4 separate regions of the Homo sapiens genome follow, and regions 1, 3 and 4 are each linked to region 2. The links are contacts of gene promoters, found by promoter capture Hi-C in blood cells and fetal thymus (Javierre and others, 2016). All regions are on one chromosome and are shown on one strand. The core of a region is centred on a gene start or on the middle of the fragment in contact, and the rest is flanking DNA. Distances in the headings are between cores, read along the strand shown. Region 1 overlaps ATP2A2 (ATPase sarcoplasmic/endoplasmic reticulum Ca2+ transporting 2). Region 2 holds the start of IFT81 (intraflagellar transport 81). Region 3 has its middle 13 kb from the start of ATP2A2. Region 4 overlaps ATP2A2 (ATPase sarcoplasmic/endoplasmic reticulum Ca2+ transporting 2).

Region 1 (2,700 bases), core at 19-2,518, 220 kb after region 2:
TTGAGGTCTTAATGACCTGCTTCTACCATCCTCTGCCATTACCTGCCTCACCTTTTGCTCATGTAAACTCTATTCCAGCCACGTTGGCACTCCTTTACCATTCCAGGACTTGCCAGGTTGCACTTCCGTTCTCTGCCTGGTGGGTCTTCACCACCACCCACTGGGTTCACACACATCTTTTCAGGCCCCATGGGGCCATCTTTATTCAAATGTCACCGCCTTCTGGCCACTTTATGTAACAGTTCATATGTATGTATGCAAATTTTCTATCCCCCTTCCCTTTTTCTCTATAGCACTTGTGTTACTTTTGCATCTTAGTCTGTCTCTCCCAAAATAGGGGACAAGTTTCATGAGGGCAAAAACCTGTCTGTTTTGTTTATTGCTATATTCCTAGCATCTGTCATGTAATAGGTGTGCTTACTGCTTGTTAGGTAAAAAAGTTCAGAAATTGCCACCCAGTAGTATCCATATTTGTTCCCTTTGTAGGTCATTAAACAGCTGATGAAAAAGGAATTCACTCTAGAGTTTTCACGTGACAGAAAGTCAATGTCGGTTTACTGTACACCAAATAAACCAAGCAGGACATCAATGAGCAAGATGTTTGTGAAGGCAAGTATGGCAGATTGCAATTGAGATGTTCTTGCCAGGGTTAAGATCCCGGTGAACCAATAAAACAAAATTGTTTATCTAAATCTGTAACATTTCCAGGGTGCTCCTGAAGGTGTCATTGACAGGTGCACCCACATTCGAGTTGGAAGTACTAAGGTTCCTATGACCTCTGGAGTCAAACAGAAGATCATGTCTGTCATTCGAGAGTGGGGTAGTGGCAGCGACACACTGCGATGCCTGGCCCTGGCCACTCATGACAACCCACTGAGAAGAGAAGAAATGCACCTTGAGGACTCTGCCAACTTTATTAAATATGAGGTTAGCTAATGAAAAGTTTCTTTGTCCACACCCTGCACGATTCATTGTGTTTAAACAGTACTCCTTCAAGCAAAAGGTCAAACAGTTCTCACTTTTGCCAAGAAAGAGGTGTGGTTATTTGTTTTTCTGCCTGCCAGCTGTGTCACCCTTAAAATTTGCTGCTTCAAACATACATAGTTAATAATTTCATAAAAGTGTTATTTTCAAAGTAGAATATTTTCAAAGTAGAATAATCAAGATGAGCTTAAGCTTGTAAACCCCATTTTGCCTCTCATCTAAATCATGATTTTTTTTAAATTGGTGACATTTCTAGAATATTCATTAGTTACTGAAGGTCAAAAGATCCAAGTTGGAGATTACTTCCACTTTTCTACTCAGAGTAGAATTCTTTTATATCAAGGATGTGACATCCTAAAGCTATGAACAAAATGAAGAAGCTTTGGTACTGTGGGCTCAGAATAGCACAAGAGTTAAAGAATGGTTTGATAACGGGTGTAGTGGTATTTTTTTTTCTCATAAGAAAATGCAAAAACCGCCAGGCACGGTGGCTCAAATGCCTGTAATCTCAGCACTTTGGGAGGCCGAGGCTGGCAGATCACCTGGGGTTGGGGGTTTGAGACCAGCCTGACCAACATGGAGAAACCACATCTCTACTAAAAATACAAAATTAGCCAGGTGTGGTGGCGCATACCTGTAGTCCCAGCTACCCTGGAGGCTGAGGCAGAAGAGTCTCTTGAACCTGGGAGGCGGAGGTCGCAGTGAGCTGAGATTGCGCCATGGCACTCCAGCCTGGGCAACAAGAGCGAAACTCCGCCTCAAAAAAAAAAAAAGAAAAAAAATGCAGAAACCTGTCTCAATGTTTAACTGGGCATTTTTCAAACTAGGGGACAAAAACTAGAACTTGCCACTTTTATTTAAAGTGATGCTCTTATTTTAGACCAATCTGACCTTCGTTGGCTGCGTGGGCATGCTGGATCCTCCGAGAATCGAGGTGGCCTCCTCCGTGAAGCTGTGCCGGCAAGCAGGCATCCGGGTCATCATGATCACTGGGGACAACAAGGGCACTGCTGTGGCCATCTGTCGCCGCATCGGCATCTTCGGGCAGGATGAGGACGTGACGTCAAAAGCTTTCACAGGCCGGGAGTTTGATGAACTCAACCCCTCCGCCCAGCGAGACGCCTGCCTGAACGCCCGCTGTTTTGCTCGAGTTGAACCCTCCCACAAGTCTAAAATCGTAGAATTTCTTCAGTCTTTTGATGAGATTACAGCTATGGTGAGCATGTTTGAACATGTACAGGTGACTCAGGCTACACAAGCACATAGTAGCCTCTAATTTTGACCACTGAATTTTTTTGTCATAGCTCCCTAATTTGGAATTTGTCATGATTTGGGTCTTTTCTCTAGAATTCGGTGAATCAGTGGTTAGCATGTTGTGTGCTACTTGCAGGGAAGATCCTAGAGTCGTTTAAAACCCAGAAGGGCCTTCCAGATCAGTCCCAGAGGAACAATCTGGTGATCTAGTCTCTTTTTTAAATGAGACGTGTTTTTATTGTAAGTTTTCTGAAAATTGAGGATGTAATCAGTCAGTTGTTTGGATCACCCTGCTTTTAAGTTCTTTAAGAGCTGGCTATTGATGAAGCATTTCCAGTATTCTTCCCCTCACCTGATTTTCACCCAGATACATTATGTTAAATTTACTTTCTTCTCTTTTAAAAAAAAATCTTAGTTTTGAAACATACTATAAGTGTACTCTCCTCTCCCCCAGAGGTAACT
Region 2 (2,700 bases), core at 69-2,568:
CACCCTCCCCAAATAAACTTGAGGCCCTTAATCTGGGCTCCTAATCATTGGCTTCTCTTGTTACAGCATTTATCTCAATTGTATTGGTGTTGCCCCTTTAATAATCTCTGCCGGCACTAGACTGTCAGCTCCATCAGGGCAGGGGCCAGGTAAGTCCTGCCCTTCTGCATTTCCAGCAGCCTGTACAGTACAGGGCATATAGGAAATGCCTAATACGTAATCTGTTATTTTTTGTTGTGGTAAGTCTGATGCTAAAGCTATAGTTGGTTTCTCCTATGCTGTTTGAGCAGGCAACTAAGTTTTCAAGGTATCAATAATTTGATTTTTTTTCCTTCTCTTTCTTTCATTGCCAGCTGATATCACTAAGTATCGTGGTCTCTAGTCTAATAGAGGTTGGTTCAAAATACCATTTGCCAACTAAGGTCTCCCACAAACCAGCTAGTGCAAATTCCAGTAGACTTTTAAACCTCATCAGTGACTGGGCACAAAGATCTCCCTGCGTCCTGCGTGGGATGTGAACTCCATGAAGACCACAAGGAGGATTTAATTTATTTCTGCAGTCACCTAAAGAGAGCCCACTCAGAAGCCAAAGGAACATTAGGACACTTAGTTCTCCCACACCCCCTTTCAGGCTCTCAGCATACTCAAAACGTATTGGGTTTAAAAAAATTTAATTCCCAGTACAGGCAATGTGGCCCAGTAATGTGACACAGAAGCTGAAATCTCTATGATGAATGTGTCTTCTTTTAATCCTGCCAGAGCCTCACTACAATTGTTCCTATGCATAACCTAATTTGGAGATACTTATGTCAAAAACCTAAATTTGAAGCACTGGCCAAATGCTTGCTCATCCCAACCCCCCTACCACCCAGCCCTGCCTCAAAAACAAACAAAAATCATCACCCACGTTTGGCGCATGAATGCATGCATGCATGCATGAATGAATGAATGAATGAAACATCACACGCATTTAACATAGGTTAATCATGCAGAGAGTATTTTGTAAACTGCGAAGTGCAGGACTTTCGGGAAGCTTATTGTAGCGCGTCTAGGTCGGAGTAACAGTCCCAAATGCCCTCGGCTGTCTGCAGTGGCTCAGCACGTGGGCCCGCTTTGCAAGTAAGCCCGGCTCCCGTCCGCCCCGTCCGCCCCGCCCCGTCCCGCCCCGTCCCGTCCGCTCCGCCCCGCCCCGCCCCGTCCGCTCCGCCCCGCGCCCGTCCTCCCCGCCCTGGCCCGGCCCCGCCCCCCAGCTCGTGCGCGCGCGCGCGGGAGAGCGGCCGCTCGCCCGGAAGTGACGTAACTCTACGGCCTAGCAACCGTTGCCAAGGAGCTCGACTCTGGGAGCGGTCTAGAGCCCGGGCGCCTCCTGGGGGGTGGGGAAACGGTTTCGTGAGGAGAATTTGAGGTAACCTCGCCAACTCGCGGTCGGAAGCTCCTCTGAACCCCGAAATAGGAGAGAGCTCCCGTCCTCTCTCGGTCCTGATGCAGCACCTCGCAAGTGGAAGGGGTCGTCGCGGTTAAGCCCCCGGATAGGGGAATCGGGCCCCTTCTGGGATTCGAGCGGATCCAGGCCGCTCCCTGGAGGGATGAACTGTCGAGGGGCCCAGGGCAGCCCCCGCTAGAGGCCCGGTCGGGTGTGGGGTCCCCTGTCCCCTGTCCCGAGCCCGGGGAGGGGGACACTATTTCTGGTACTCCCAGGAGGCTGCGGGTCGATGCTCGTGCCAGCCTGGGACCCAGGCAGCACGGTTTCTCTCCCAAATTGTGCCAGAGAACACGCACGTCCTGGTTTTCATTGTTCCCCGCCTCCTGCGACTCGTTTGTGGGTGAGTGCTTGGGAATTAGCGCGGCGACTTCGCGCTAGAAGAGGGACAGTAATTGCTTTTGCTAATTTTAGAGCGCAGAGCCCGCTGGGCACAGACAGCCTTCCTGTTCAGTACATCTTTGTCCTTATCGAGTGACCATTTTTGCAGGCTGGTGGGCGACTTGGGGGGAACCCAACTGGTTTATTTTGCCTTCCTGGAAACGTTGTACTAGTTTATCCAGATTTTTTTTTAAGGGAAAAAAGAGTAGACCTATAGATAATTTCTAAATCATTTAAAATGAAATACATATTTCTGCACGCAAAGGTTATGACGTGGACTTTTACTTAAAATACTTTAAACAATGGAAAACTTGCACTTCCAATATGGATTTTAAAAAAAAACTTACGTAAAGGTTTTCCTTTTATAGCTTAAAGGAAACCTCAGATTTATTATAAGCCATGGTGGTTATCCTTCCTATCCTCTTTTGACTTATTTCTTAGCAATAATAATTATTTGTGCGTAATTTTTCATCATTGTGGAGAAATTATCTTTTTTATTTTATTTTTTCTGTTGAGACGGAGTCTCTCTCTGTCCCCCAGGCTGGAGTGCAGTGGCGCGATCTCGGCTCACTGCAACCTCCGCCTCCCGGGTTCAAGCAATTCTCCTGCCTCAGCCTCCCAAGTAGCTGGGACTACCGGCGCCCGCCACCACACCTGGCTAATTTTTGTATTTTTAGTAGAGACCGGGTTTCACCATGTTGGCCAGGCTGGCCTCGAACTCCTGACCTCAAGTGATCTGCCTGCCTCGGCCTCCCAAAGTACTGGGATTACAGGAGAGAACGACAGCTCCCGGCAGCAACTCATTGCTTAATTCATTTTTAATCCTTAAAGCATTTACC
Region 3 (2,700 bases), core at 12-2,511, 140 kb after region 2:
GCCTGCAATGTCTCTCTACTAGTGCTGCCAGCCACGTGCAAGGCACATCACATGCACAGTCTCTCATGTAACTCACACGAAAACTACATGAGGTAGATTCAATTATCCACTCTTTATAATTGAGGAAATAGGGACACAGATTAAGTAGCTTGCCTAAGAGCATACAGTATTACCTGGTGCCTGCAATTCTCTGAATTTGTCTCTCCACGTTTTCCAAAAGGTGATGTTTTGAAGACTGTGATAATATTGAATCATGTGACTGGAAAAACAGGGCAAATCACAAGTTAAAACACACCCCCTGTCTAACATGTGCAAAGCCCTCTCTGAGGAGTCTCATTAGCCTGGAGCCTGGTTCTAATGCACTAAGCCCTTTACCTTCCCTCCCCACTGGACCCCCTTTTTAATTGACATTTAATTGCCTGTGGTCAGATCTCCTCCAATCCCTGTGCCTCTGGGCCCCTGATCTTAGGGGACTTGGGGAGCTAGACCTATATTTTCTTGGATTTCCACTGACTTCCCATTAAATTATTATCCCTGGGTACAGTGGACTCCGTGTGCATGTGTTGCTTTATTTCGCCTTTAAAGCATACAGCTTTAATTGGGCAATCACAATGCCTTTCTCCCATTATCGTCAGCAGGGAAGTAAGTAATCAAGCTCCCCATCTTAAAACTTCGGTAAAATGAGGTCAGCAAGATGTGTGGTATTGACATGGCACCCAGCAAAGGAAAATGACTCTTGGTGGCTCACATTGTTGTGGGGCTTGTTTGCGTTGCTGTGCAGTTGTAATGGAAAATGAATAAAAATAAAAATCCCGGGGCCCTTTTTGGCCAGCACTTGGGAAGTTAATCCCACTGTCCTGGCAGAATTCCAGCTCAGGTCACTGCATTCAGCTGGCGGAAGCCTCCTTGTGCAGCTTTCAGTGGAAGGGGAACTCTGCTTTACCACTTTTCTCAGCAACATGTGCTGCAAATTAAGCAGCTGTCCCTTCCCCACCCTGGACAGGGCTGCATTTCGTGACTCAGAATGATCCTCTCTCCCCTTGCCACAGCGGGGAGTAGGGACAGATCTGGGATCAGGAAATTAAACTGGTCCAAGAACCAGTTGAGGAGATATTTGCTATAATAAAAATCTTTGTGGGTCTCTGAGTGCTTCTGCGCAGTCAGAGAATCACAGATTCCTAGCATTAAAAGGTTTTCCAGGAGTCGTCTAGTTTCTTTCTAAAACCCCATGCATACATTCCCTCCATTTGTTTTATAACATTTTATTATGCAAATTTAAAGTGTTTCTATACCTGAAGTACTTAGAAGTTTTCTCTCCCCTCCTCACCTATCTACTTTTTTTTTTTTTTGAAATGGAGTCTTGCTCTGTCACCCAGGCTGGAGTGTAGTGCCGTGATCTCGGCTCACTGCAACCTCCACCTCCCGGGTTCAAATGATTCTCCTGCCTCAGCCTCCCAAGTAGCTGGGATTATGGGCATGTGCCACCAAGCCCCGCTAATTTTTGTATTTTTAGTAGAGACAGGGTTTCGCCATGTTGGCCAGGCTGGTCTCAAACTCCTGACCTCAAGTGATCCACCCACTTTGACCTCCACACCTATATAGTTTTGTTGCTTCTTTTCATTGTTTTACAGACTTTTAAAAAAATGTTTAACACTCTTTCCAATATGAAATGTATTGCATTTCTTTTCTTTTCTTTTTTGAGACAGAGTTTCACTCTTGCTGCCCAAGCAGTGGTGCGATCTCAGCTCACTGCAACCTCTGCCTCCCGGGTTCAAGCGATTCTCCTGCCTCTACAGGCACCTGCCACCATGCCTGCCTGGCTAGTTTTTTGTATTTTTAGTAGAGACGGGGCTTCACTATGTTGGCCAGGCTGGTCTCAAATTCCTGACCTCAGGTGATCCACCCACCTCAGCCTCCCAAAGTTCTGGGATTACAGGCATGAGCCACAGCGCCCAGCCGGATTGCATTTCATGGTGTTAGAAATAGATCCAAGCTAATTCTTCTCCCTACAAATAATCTTCTATTCCCAAAGATGTTTATTGAATAGTGATTTCTAATTTGTGTGACTTAACCTCTCTGAGAATCAACTTTCAGTACCTGGAAAAATAGGAATGATAATGATACGTACCAGACAGGCTTGTCCTAAGGATGCACTAAGACAACATGTGAAAAGGTCCCAGCACATTGCATGCATGGCAAATGCATGTCTATTAAATGGTGTCTTCCTTTTTGTCCCTTCCTTCTTTTGATTTATTTATTTATTTATTTTTATTTTTTGAGACCGAGTCTCGTTGTGTCACCCAGGTTGGAGTGCAGTGGAGCAATCTCAGCTTATTGCCACCTCCACCTCCCGGGCTCAAGCAATTCTCCTGCCTCAGCCCCCCAAGAAACTGGGACTACAGGTGAGCGCCACCACACCCAGCTAATTTTTGTATTTTTAGTAGAGAGAGGGTTTCACCATGTTGGCCACTCTCATCTCAAAGTCCTGATCTCAAGTGATCCGCCCACCTCAGCCTCCCAAAGTGCTGGGATTACAGGTGTGAGCCACCACACCCGGCCTCCTTCCTTCCTTTTTTTTTTTTTTGAGGCAGAGTCTCTGTCACCCAGCCTGGAGTGCAGTGGCATGATCTCTGCTCACTGCAACCTCCGCCTCCCGAGTTTAAGGGATTCTCCTGCCTCAGCCTCCCAAGTAGCTGGGAT
Region 4 (2,700 bases), core at 59-2,558, 160 kb after region 2:
ATCAAACTAAGTAGTAAACTGTTAACTATAGTTAATATTTTGCTGTGGCATAGAATAGGAAGCTATGCTTGTGACCTGTAGGGATCTAGTTTAATTTGTAATATTGGCCAAAGTGTTTTTTTGAAACGGTCACTTGGATTGAAAGAAATAAGCTTCATCTTCCAGTGCATATGAACATTAGAAATTGCTTAATTTGACACTGAAGACCCCCCCTCTATCATTCACTTTATCTTTTCATTCTCTTCTTGATTACCAACTTTGTTCTAAATGTAACACATCGTATGGTTGCTTAACTGATGCCTGCCCTTTCTTCTCTTTTCCTGCTTTGTTAAGATATTTATTGAGCACCTGTCACAGACACTGGGGATACAGTAGTGAATAAAACAGACAGAGACCCTTACCTGGAGGATAATACTGCTGAGAAAAATAAAGCAAGGGGGTTTGGATATCAGAGTATGTGAAAGGGGGAACAGTTTTCAAATTGGGTGGTCCGGAAAGTTCTTGAGGAAGGTGACATTTGCGAAAAGATCTGAAGGAGGTGGGCATTAGGGCCATGTTGGTCTCCCATCTGTCTAAATCATAAAGTCATAATTAATATGGTAATAATTTGCATAGGTTTCTCTACCTTCCACCGTCGTTTCCCATGTCAGCTACTTAGATTGACCCTAAAATGCTAATAAAACTTTCTAGACTGTGGTACTTCTCAACCTTTAGGTTACATTTGACCATTTGCATGTGTGTGTCTCTTTTCTTCCTACTAGACCCCCTTGAGTTAGTGCTTTTTTTTTTTTTTTTTTTTAAATGTAGATGGAGTCTCACTCTTGTTGCCCGGGCTGGAGCGCAGTGGTGCAATCTCGGCTCACTGCAACCTCCACCTCCTGGGTTCAAGTGATTCTCCTGCCTCAGCCTCCTGAGTAGCTGGGATTACAGATGTCCACCACCACGCCCGGCTAATTTTTGTATTTTTAGTAGAGATGGGGTTTACCTTTGTTGGCCAGGCTGGTCTCGAACTCCTGACCTCAGGTTATCACCTGCCTCAGCCTCCCAAAGTGCTGGGATTACAGGCATGAACCACTGCGCCTGGCCTAAGTTAGTGCTTTTGATGTCACAAAAACTTGGGTGAGTTTGTTTCAGTAGAATTTTCTGAAAATACATGAGATCTTTTTACTGTAGTTTCTCAGAAGAGAATACTCAAAGCATTTGATACTGGATTTGTAGTGATTTTAATTTTCTTCTGTATCTTTTAATTTTTGATTTTAAAAATGGGATAAGAAGGGCAAATTACTGATTGGTTTAACTAGTTTATTCAGAGCTTTTCTTAAAATAATGACTTGAAAGGTGGATTTAATAGAGTACTTTTTAAAAAGATTGTTTTCTCATGCCTGAAAGCATTGAATGTTTTTACATAGCTTTATATCTGGATCAGAAGGGAACGAGTTCTAATTCATGCTTTTTTTTCCGTTTTATTAATGACTGAAAGTCCTCCCCCAGAAATTATCGTAACGTTTATTGGTAATTCTCTGTATCATTCTCGAAATGTTTAATTTCCATTTCCTCTTTATTTAAAAAAAAAAAAAAACTTGATGTAAATTTCTTCATTTATTGAGCAATTGTTTGAGGGCCCAAAGGCACAGTGCAAGTTTCTGAGAATACTAGGAGCAAAATGTGCTTATGATCTTTTTAAGCACTTTTTTCTTTCGTTTTCTTTTTATGATACTAAGAGCTCTTCCTATTATCACAGTGTATAGATATCTGAGTCACAATATCATGACTGTCTCCCAGTTTACAGCAGAACGTGCTTTTTACCTTGGATTAAAATTTGCTTTATTTGGCCGGGTGCAGTGAGTGGCTCATGCCTGTAATCCCAGCACTTTGAGAGGCCGAGGTGGGTGGATCATTTGAGGTCAGGAGTTCGAGACCAGCCTGGCCAACATGGTGAAACCCCACCTGTACTAAAAATACAAAAATTAGCCAGGCGTGGTGGTGGGTCCCTGTAATCCCAGCTACTCAGGAGGCTGAGGCAGGAGAATCGCTTGAACCCGGGAGGCGGATGTTGCAGTGAGCCGAGATTGCGCCACTGCACTCCAGCCTGAGTGACAAAGTGAGACTCCGTCTCAAAAAAAAATTTTTTTTTTGCTTTAGTATACTTATCAGAAGTATAATGCAGTACAGAGTGTTGTACAGTATTTCAGTGCTGTACAGAGATTAATCTTGTGGATAATAATTGGGAGATACTCTATCCCTACTCTATTTTTAACAGTTTAATGTAGTTGAGTGTTCATTAGCAAGTGGTTACTTTGAATAATACTGGCACATTTGAAGCATTGAACTTGTTTGATAATGTATGTCCCAGAAGACAGGTATTATTGTATTTAGCACAAAGCAAAGGGAAGAAGAAACACTGTTTATGTCCAAAACTATGGGGCAGTGGTCTTCTCTTTTACTTTTCTTTGCTGCTGTTCATGAAGCTTGTTACCTTTTCGCTGTCTTTTTTTTGAGACGGAGTCCTGCTCTGTCGCCCAGATTGGAGTGCAGTGGTGCGATCTTGGCTCACTGCAACCTCCACCTCCCAGCTTCAAGTGATTCTCCTGCCTCAGCCTCCCGAGTAGCTGGGATTACAGGCATGCACCACCACGCCCGGGTAATTTTTTGTATTTTTAGTAGAGACGGGGTTTCTCCATGTTGACCAGGCTGGTCTCC

What was found. The method cuts DNA at HindIII sites, captures the fragments that hold promoters and counts their contacts. A CHiCAGO score of 5 or more calls a contact.
Region 1: a fragment that was not itself captured here is called in contact with the fragment with the promoter of IFT81 in region 2 in 5 of 17 cell types (endothelial precursors, megakaryocytes, M1 macrophages and 2 more); the score reaches 11.0 in endothelial precursors.
Region 3: a fragment that was not itself captured here is called in contact with the fragment with the promoter of IFT81 in region 2 in 3 of 17 cell types (endothelial precursors, M1 macrophages and erythroblasts); the score reaches 5.7 in endothelial precursors.
Region 4: a fragment that was not itself captured here is called in contact with the fragment with the promoter of IFT81 in region 2 in 4 of 17 cell types (endothelial precursors, M1 macrophages, naive B cells and 1 more); the score reaches 7.7 in endothelial precursors.

Annotation. Positions count from the first base shown.
Region 1 is chr12:110,338,795-110,341,494 of GRCh38, forward strand. It overlaps ATP2A2 (ATPase sarcoplasmic/endoplasmic reticulum Ca2+ transporting 2), which reads left to right. Exons shown (of 20, transcript NM_170665.4): 12 at 487-609; 13 at 709-927; 14 at 1,865-2,200. Among named protein-coding and RNA genes, the nearest start is that of ATP2A2, 59 kb to the left of the region's middle. RefSeq lists enhancers at 200-299, 1,707-2,700. The HindIII fragment of the contact is 188 bases long and covers 1,175-1,362 here.
Region 2 is chr12:110,123,039-110,125,738 of GRCh38, forward strand. It overlaps IFT81 (intraflagellar transport 81), which reads left to right and starts at 1,319. Exons shown (of 19, transcript NM_014055.4): 1 at 1,319-1,823. RefSeq lists a silencer at 1,133-1,402. The HindIII fragment of the contact is 3,777 bases long and covers 1,032-2,700 here.
Region 3 is chr12:110,266,475-110,269,174 of GRCh38, forward strand. No RefSeq gene overlaps it. Among named protein-coding and RNA genes, the nearest start is that of ATP2A2, 13 kb to the right of the region's middle. RefSeq lists an enhancer at 2,626-2,700. The HindIII fragment of the contact is 5,355 bases long and covers 1-2,700 here.
Region 4 is chr12:110,285,137-110,287,836 of GRCh38, forward strand. All of the region lies in intron 3 of ATP2A2 (ATPase sarcoplasmic/endoplasmic reticulum Ca2+ transporting 2), which reads left to right. Among named protein-coding and RNA genes, the nearest start is that of ATP2A2, 5.2 kb to the left of the region's middle. The HindIII fragment of the contact is 2,316 bases long and covers 151-2,466 here.